Regions from separate parts of the Homo sapiens genome. Here region 2 is linked to region 1. Evidence: promoter capture Hi-C in human tissues and cell types (Jung and others, 2019). All regions are on one chromosome and are shown on one strand. The core of a region is centred on a gene start or on the middle of the fragment in contact, and the rest is flanking DNA. Distances in the headings are between cores, read along the strand shown. Region 1 holds the start of KCNQ4 (potassium voltage-gated channel subfamily Q member 4). Region 2 has its middle 50 kb from the start of ZNF684.

Region 1 (4,593 bases), core at 1,812-4,311:
GACCTTCTGTGTGGGCCCCCTCCTCCAGCCCCAATAATAACAACCGTCTTTCAAGCTCAGACAGGCCCCTGGAGCTTACCAAGCTCTTTCCCACTCTATTACCTCATCCAAGAGAGAGGCCGCAAGGTTGGGGTTTCTACCCGCTTTGACAACCTACAGACCTAAAGCTCAGAGAGGCCCAGCAATCAACCCAACGTCACAGAGCACATAAGAGGTGGGGTTCCTGACACCTCTGTCCCCTTTGACCTCTAAGATGGGTGACCAATTCCCTGAGATCCTTAAACACCAGGACACTTTCACACCATACTTCTTCCCCCAGAGTTCCCAAGACATGCCCTGGCCCTGGGCTCCCGGGGACAAGTGGTCAGGACAAGCACGGCCCTGGCGAGGGCATTTCCTGGCATCAGGAAAGGGCAGGATGTGGGGCAAAGGTGCCAGTGGATTAGCTCCTGGAGAGGAAGGGGCGGTCCTTTCAAAGGAGGCACCAACAGCAGCTGGCCAGGGGACAGGAGGCAGGTCCTTCACCTCCACTGACCCTTGTGGGGGCTGTAAGGCCAAGCCTGGGGGGGTAAGGACCCCACCTCAGAGCCCTATTGGCTTCCCCAGGCCCTGCCATGCCTTGGAAAAGTCCCTTCCCAAGAGGAGCCCACGGAGGGCACAGTTGTTCTCTGGGGGGTGTCTCACCCTCCTTAGGCACTCAAGGAGGCTGCTCTGTAGCCACTCCTAAGAAGTAGTCCCCATCCCCTCACCCCCAACTCCACCAGCCCTGGGCCTTCCTCACTCCAACGGGCCTCTTTATAGCCACAAATATTCATCCTAGGCCTCCCAATGGACACTAAGGACTGGGCTACTACAAACCGTTGACCCTGAACCGAAGCTTGACCTCATGTCCTGAGCAATTTCAACTCTCTGCCCCAGCCTAGCCCAGCTGAGGTCTCTGCACAGAGTCAAGGTTGCCACCCCCAACGCACTTAATGGCCGAGAGAGCCCTGCTGTCTTCCCCCCCTGCCCCTCCCTGTGCCGCATCTTTCTCCCCTTCACCTCTGAAATTATGTGGGCCCAGTTCAGATGGGGCAGAGGCAGGCCAGCAAGCACCCGAGAAACAGGCCGAAGGACAGACCCAGAGACAGGTGGAAAAGACAGGTAGAGGAAGAGTGGACAGTCAGGTGGACAGGTGGATAGGCAGATGCACAGACAGGCACCCGGATAACTGCACAGGCCACAGATGGATGGAAACAGGCAAGCAGAAGGACTGCGGACAGTTAGGTGGAAGGGTGAGCAGACTGGCCAACTCGCACACAGGTGGAAACTCAGGCTGGCAGAGGGACAGCCAGGCCAGCAGGAGGGCTGCTAGACAGTCAGGTGGGCAGGCAGGTGGGCCACCCAGGAGACCCCAGCGCCAAAGGGCCCTCTCTGGTGGCAGCAAAAAGGGATTAATAGCCACACATTTTCCAGGGACCAGAGGTCTCTCTCTGGGCACCTCTGAGCGTCCCAGCGTCAGGCCCAGCCCTTCAACTGATATCTGCGGGGCCTCTCATGTTCCTGGCTGGGCCAGGCCGTACCCCAAGACTGAGCTCTGAGCTGCCAAAATTCACTCTTCACACCCAAGAGGGGTCAGTGTTTTTGAAAGTTGTAGGAGCCTGGTGAGAGGGAGGAGGGGGCCCCAGCAGCGTCAGTGTTTCCAAACCTACCCCTCTCCTCTTTCTTTTTCCCCTGGTGCCTAGAGCCAGGCCTGGTGCTGCCAGCCAACAAGGCAGGCGAGCTGGGCCAAGCCGGCAGGGTAGGGCAGGGCAGGCAGGGCGGCCGCCGTTGCCACTGGGAAGTTGAGGGTGGAGGGGAAGACTGAGCGAAGACACAGATCAAGTCGGACACAGCATATGCGAGTGTCAGGGCCCAGGGGGCCCACAGGGACCCCCACACACCCACAGTCAGCTGGGCAGGGGTAGGAATGAGGGCCGCCCTGGAGAGGAGCACCCCTGAGGGGAGCCCTTCATAGCTCAGAGCTGGGGAGCAGGTGACAGAAGCGTGTGGGAGCCAAGGGTTCCTCTTTGTGTCTGGGACACAGGGAGGCAGGGGTGGGGAAGAGGAAAAGGGCGCCCACTCCAGGGGCCCCAGACTTCGCCAAGCGGACTTGGGGGAGGCAGCTGGCGGTCGGGAGTACCTGGGACAGAGGAGCAGAGATTGGCGGTCAGGATGGAAATAAGCAGTTGCGGTGCGGGGAGGTCAGAAGCGAGGTCAAGCAGGGGTCAGGCCTGGGAGATCAGGGCTTAGGGTCGGGCTCAGCGAGGGGATCAGAAACCGGGCTTAGGCCTGGGGGGAGAGAGATGAGGGTCGGCCCTGAGGCAGGGGGGTAGAAGGCGGAGCCAGGGCGGGGCGGCCGTGCCCCGGGAGGCCAGGCTTGCGCGGGGAAACGCGGAAGGGCGCGGGGTCGCAAACTCACATGAAGACGTGGTAGACGAAGGCCCAGCCGCGGGGCCGCTCCAGCACGTTGTAGACCCAGTTCTGCAGGCGGCGGTAGCGCTTGTGCGCGGCCGAGGAGCGCTGGCCGCAGGCGGAGCCCGAGCCGGAGCCCGGCCCAGGGAGGGGCGCGCCCGGCGGCAGGGGGCTGCCCAGGAGGCCGAGGCGGCGCGGGGAGCCGCCCCCGCCCGCCTCGCCCTGTTCGCTCTGCACGGCCGTGAGCGCCACTAGCTCCGCGCGGGGGGCGTCCCCGGGCGGGGGACCCAGGCCGAGGCGGCGCGGGGGGGCCTCGGCCATGGGCGGCGCCGGGCTGGGGGCGCCGGGGCCCGGGCACGGTCCGGGGCGGGGGCGCGCTCGGGGCGCTCAGAGACGCATGGCTCGGACCCGGGGCCAGAGGGGCGACCCGGGGCGGGCGCGGGCGGCGGGGGCTAGGGGCCGGGCCGGGGCCGCGGGCGGGCGCTCGGAGCCTGGGGGCCGCCGGAGCCCGCACTGACCTCCCGCTTCCCCGGCGACTGGGGCTGCTCTTTCCGACTCCAACTCTCTTATTACGCGCTCCATGCCGCTCGCCTTTCCACCTGCCACCGGCGCGCGCCGCTCACATGTCACCCTCCCCCGCCCCGCCCCTCCCCCGCCCGCCCCGCGGCCGCCTTCCCAAATCGGGAGGGAGCGAGCGAGCAAGCGAGGCGAGGCGGAGGGAGGGAACGCGCGGAGCAGGCGGCGGGGCAGGGCGCACGGGCGGCCGAGTTGGTGCCTGGGCCGAACCGCGTGGCGGGGGCAGCGCGCGGGGCCGGGAAGCCGGACGCGTGCAAGTGGTGTCCACCGCTGCGTGGGGCAGTGTGGCCCCGAAGGCCAGCCCGGGGTGGGACGCCTCGTGTGTGCTTGTGGAAAGTGGAATGTGGAGTTGTGGCCGCGGGCGGCAGGGGAAGGGACGCAGTGTCCCGTGGAGTTTAGGTGTAGACCGGTGGAACGGCGTCTACTTGTGTGTGCAGGGTGGGTGGCTGTGGGTCTACCAGGTGCGGGGATGGAGTCAGTGAGGTGTGAGTTATGGGTCGGGTGTGGGTGGCTGCGAAAGTGGAGGTGGAGTCCGAAGGGGATGAGGTGTGTCCGTTGGGGTCGAGCACTGTGTGCCTGGTGCGGGTGCTTAAAGTGTGCCCAGTGCTGTGTGTGGCTGGGTGGGCAGCGGCGGTTGTCCTGCTCTTACCTGAAAGGCCTGGAGCCCACGGGCTGCTAGGCAGCATCAGGGTGTGTGGAACACAGTGGGCCTGGGTGTGTCTTTCTCCCACCAACTGCCACCTCTGAGCTTCCCTTCATCGTGATGGGGGAAGAGCCACCCTGCCCAGAAGAGGATCCTCCCCGATGGAGGGGCCTGCTCCCCTGCCCCACTCCCAGGTCAGGGAACTGGGTTTGGGCAGATGGAGTGTTGGGAGATGAGCTCTAAGCCAGCCTTAGAGGGGACACACACCCCCTACCCAAGGCCCACAGAATCCCAGCCAGAAAAGGGGATACTTTGTCCCAGGGCATTCCCTCTCCAGCTGGAAAGTTTTTCTTAGTCCCCGACCTCCATCTCTCTGGCTGTAGGGGGCAGTCCCTCTCCTTTAGCCCTCCTGGGCCCTGCACAGGGTTGGTAACTTGGGTTTCCCGATCCTCTTTCCCTCTTCCTCCACGGAAAGCTGCGGCCACACCAGCCGCTCCCTCCGCAGGCCCTGCCCCAGGGTGAGCCTTCCGCAGCAAACTCTTCCCGGTTCCTCCGGGAGGATCTCGAGGGACGAAGCCGAGCGGGAGGGGCGGGGGAAGGGGCGGGAAGGCGAGCTCGATTCTCAGCTGTCAGCAAAGGCAGCATTGATCTGCTGAGCGCCAGTGAGGGAGGGAGGGAGGCAGGGCCGTGGGCTGCAGGGATCTGTGGGGTCCCTAAACTGGGCTTGGCAACCGGCCCACACCCCTACCCCATAGTGATCCTTTCCCCTCTGCCTAGCTGGGGGTGCCCTCTGGGGTCTGACCTGAATCTCTTCTGCTGCTCCTGGTCCAGGTGTGCCCAGGGCCAGAGCCGGGTGCCCCAGGGCAGGTTATGCCCGGATCCTCTACTGGAAGCTGGGGACAGTTTCTGGACCCCAAGGCCCCACTAGGGATGTGGTGCCT
Region 2 (4,268 bases), core at 525-3,024, 200 kb after region 1:
GTTTTGATTTTGTTTCTGTTTGGTCTCATTATGGCTCCAGAATGTTTTATAAGAGATCAGTCTTTTTTTTTTTTTTTTTTTTTTTTTTTTTGAGATGGAGTCTCACTCTGTCACCCAGGCTAGAGTGCAATGACACAATCTCGGCTCACTGCAGCCTCCCGGGTTCAAGCAATTCTCCTGCCTGGGCCTCCGAGTAGCTGGGATTATGGGCACCTGCCACCATGCCCGGGTAATTTTTTGTATTTTTAGTAGAGACAGGGTTTCACCATGTTGGCCAGGCTGGTCTTGAACTGACCTCAGGTGATCCGCCCACCTCGGCCTCCCAAAGTGCTGGAATTACAGCCCTGCCCGGCCAAGAGATCAGTCTCTTCAACTCTCTTCCTTGCTTCCTTACAAACAGAACCTTATGGTAACCCCTTAAAACATTTTGTAACATTGAAACACTTGGCAAGTAATATTTTCATTTAGATTTAATTTAGGCTATTGGTATTGTTTATTTCCTATGTATAATTTTGTTGAGTTTTAAGATACTGGGTAAACTTCCTCACCCCAACCCCAAGTTTAATTGTCACATTTATAGTAGGCATCTATTCTGCAGCTTTATAACTTGAATGTATTTGAATGTTTTGACAGTCCTTATTATCACATTGATTCTCTTCTGCCTAGATTCTACTAAAGGTGAACATTTCCCTTCTGACTGAAGTTTGTATTACACTCATTAATAGCAATTTTCTTTAGTGTGGATTCTCTGGTGAATGTGAACTTCTGAGGCTTGAGAGAAGCCCGTACTGAACTCATCACATTTATGGGGTCTCTCTCCCCTATGCACTTGCTCATCAGTGCCAAGTTTTGCACTCTGAGAAAAATTCTCACCGCTCTTAGAAATGATAATGATGTGCTTTCTCTCCTGAATGGAGGGAGGGTACTACAAAGGAGAAGAGAGGAGCACCTGGTGAAGCTCTCACTACGTTCATCACACAGGTAGGGTTGCTCTCCCATACGGTTCCTGAGTCCCATGTGGATCTCCAACTGTACAATAACCCTGACCACATTCCCTTCACTTCAAAGGTTTTCCTCCTGCACAGGTGCTTTCATAATTGGAAAAATTTTTGTACCAGCTGATACCCACAATTCATGCATCATATTTATAAGCCCCCTCTATTGTGTGCACTCCAAGAGGAATTGGGCCAAAGCTTTTAACACATTCTTCACATATACAAGGTTCTCTTCTGTCCGATTGTCTCATGATCTCAAAGGAAATACCTTAGCTGAAGGCCTACCACAAACATTGGCAGGGTTTCTCTCCTTGTGGAATGTCTGAATTTGGTGATAGTTGGTAAGGGGTTCAGCTATATCTGAGTCATTCATCTATATATAATTTCTCTGTGAGTTATGGTATATCCTTGCACATTTGAGTGATTACAAAAAAATTTTCTGGCTGGGTGCGGTGGCTTATGCCTGTAATCCCAGCACTTTGGGAGGCTGAGGTGGGCAGATCATGAGATCAAGAAGATCGAGACCATCCTGTCCAACCAACATAGTGAAACCCTGTCTATACTAAAAATACAAAAATTAGCTGGGCATAGTGGCACATGCCGGTAGTCCCAGCTACTCGGAAGGCTGAGGCAGGAGAATTGCTTGAACCCAGGAGGCGGAGGTTGCAGTGAGCCGAGATCACGCCACTGAACTCCAGCCTGGTGACAGAGCGAGACTCCATCTCAAAAAAAAATAAAAATAAAAATCCATAGTTATTACAAAATTAGGACTTCTGTTCTATGTTTCTTTGGTTCCCGTTTGTGACAAATTGTGATTTCTGGTTATAAATATTCGTAACCCTAAGTACAGAGTTGGATTAGGTTTCTGAGCTATTAGCTCAGCGTTCCCCAACCTTTTGAGTACCAGGGACCAGTTTCATAGAAGACAATTTTTCCATGGACAGGGGCGAGGAGGGGGAAGGATTTCGGAATGAAACTGTTCCACTTCAGATCATCAGGCATTAGTTAGATTCTCATAAGGAGCACACAGCCTAGATCCCTTGCGTGCACAGTTCACAATAGGGTTTGCGCTGCTATGAGAATCTAATGCTGCCGCTGATCTGACAGAAGGCGGACGGAGCTCAGGTGGTAATGCTTGCCACCCACCGCTCACCTTTTGCTGTGTGTCTAGGTTCCTAACAGGCCACAGACTGGTACCTGTGGCTGGGGGACTGGGAACCCCTGCATTAGGTAATGGAGAGTGTTGCTCTATAAAGCCAGGCAACAGTTGACTTTGGAGCTTCTCTAAGCAATATTTTCTGGGAGAAGGTCTCTCACTCCCACATTTTACTCTTCTTTCAATATTGTTCTGGATCCCAAAGTAACCTTTGCTGCCTGAAGAATGTATTTCGGCCTTCACTCACATAGGACTTTTTTAAAAACTCACCACCATACTAACAAGGAATCATAGAATTTTATATAAGGCCCTGGCTGGGCAGATTTCTCCGTTTCTCAAGCTGTATCCTCTTGATTTTCTGTATTTTTTTAGTATCATCCCCTCAAAGATTAACCTTACCATTCTTGCTCCTGCAGGTTCCCCTTCCCATGTATGATGAGAGAAAGATCTTATCTGTGTTCCTGGAATCCTCCCCTTCAGGAGTCATAATGTAGTTGTGAATCTGAGTTATCTGACTGTCACCTTTTCCTATATTTGGCAGCAAGAAAGTTTTCTGTAAAGAATAATTCTTTTTTTTTTTTTTTTTTTTGAGATGAAGTCTCACTCTTGTCCCCCAGGTGGAGTGCGATGGCCTCCCGGGTTCAAGCGATTCTCCTGCCTCAGCCCCCCGAGTAGCTGGGATTACAGGCGCCTGCCACCATGCCCGGCTAATTTGTGTATTTTTAGCAGAGAGGGGGTTTCACCATGTCGGCCAGGCTGGTCTAGAACTCCTGACCTCACGTGATCCACCCACCTCAGCCTCCCAAAATGCTGGGATTACGGGCATGAGCCACCGCACCCGGCCTAAATTCTTTTATTTGAAGATTTCCTACATAGTTTTCATTCCAGCCTTCTATAAGAATCAATGAGGGCAAGTAAAGGTTATTTTTGCTTTTCTCCCACAGAGTTCAGTATTTGAGAATAGGAAGACAAAGACAGGCTTGTGTTTAAAGTCTTTTTTTTGAGACAGGGTCTCACTCTGTTGCCCAGGCTGGAGCGTAGTGGCGCGATCTCGGCTCACTGCAACCTCCACCTCCCAGCTTCAAATGACCCTCTTGCCTCAGCCTCCCAAGTAGCTGGGATTACACGTATCTGCCACCACACCCAGCTAGTTTTCGTATTTTTGGTAGAGACGGGGTTTCACCATGTTGGCCAGGCTGATCTCAAACTCCTGATCTCACGTGATCCACCTGCCTTGGCCTCCCAAAGTGCTGGGATTACACATGTGAGCCACCGCACCTGGCCCCTATGTTTGAATTCTGACACCATCAATTTTTTACAGTATGCCACGGGACGTGCTGTGAAATCTCTCTATAATTGAGTCTTCTCTTTCAGTAAAACAGGAATAGCAACCTCTTTCCATGACATAGGGCTATAATGAAGATGATGTGTGACTGTGATGACAAAATGTACTTGTACAATGTCCAGTACATAGGAAACACTAGTAATACTAATTTCCCTTTTGTGTTCTTTTTGAGACAGAGTCTTGCTCTGTTGCCCAGGCTGGAGTGCAGTGGCATGGCCGCAGCTCACTGCAACCTCTGCCTCCCAGATTCAAGAGATTCTCCAGCCTCAGCCTCCTGAGTAGCTGGGATTACAGGCAGCTGCCACTAAGCCTGGCTAATTTTTGTATTTTTAGTAGAGACGGGGTTTCACCATGTTGGCCAGGCTGGTCTCAAACTTCTGACCTCAGCCTTCTCAAAGTGCTGGGATTATAGGCATGAGCTACCATGCCCAGCCTATATAAAACATTTGATTAAAAAATATATTAGCAATTTCATGGGCCAATGTGAGGCATAGTGACATATTGACAAAGATCTAGAATGGGTAGAGAAGAGGTATTTACAAATTTGTTTATTGCCCAGTCACTGCACATAAAGATTCTTTGTAGCATCCAGATACCATCTCTTTTTCTTCAGGTTCAGGAACCATCTGTTTGTGCTTTTTATTGTCAAATGCACTGTTCCTGGCTGATTTCTATGCAAATTCTCTCCCTTATCCCTTAACCCTGGCAACCACTGATCTGTTCTCTATTCCTATATTTTTGCCTTTTCCAGAATGTCATATTGAGGCAGGAA

The links. Contacts are between HindIII fragments. The study calls those that stand out against the background at their distance.
Region 2: a contact is called between a fragment that was not itself captured here and the fragment with the promoter of KCNQ4 in region 1, in 1 of the 25 tissues and cell types used here (spleen).

What each region holds. Positions count from the first base shown.
Region 1 is chr1:40,782,255-40,786,847 of GRCh38, reverse strand. KCNQ4 (potassium voltage-gated channel subfamily Q member 4) reads right to left here and starts at 3,061. Exons shown (of 14, transcript NM_004700.4): 1 at 2,441-3,061. The coding sequence starts at 2,754. The HindIII fragment of the contact is 5,875 bases long and covers 38-4,593 here.
Region 2 is chr1:40,579,325-40,583,592 of GRCh38, reverse strand. No RefSeq gene overlaps it. Among named protein-coding and RNA genes, the nearest start is that of ZNF684, 50 kb to the right of the region's middle. The HindIII fragment of the contact is 6,720 bases long and covers 1-4,268 here.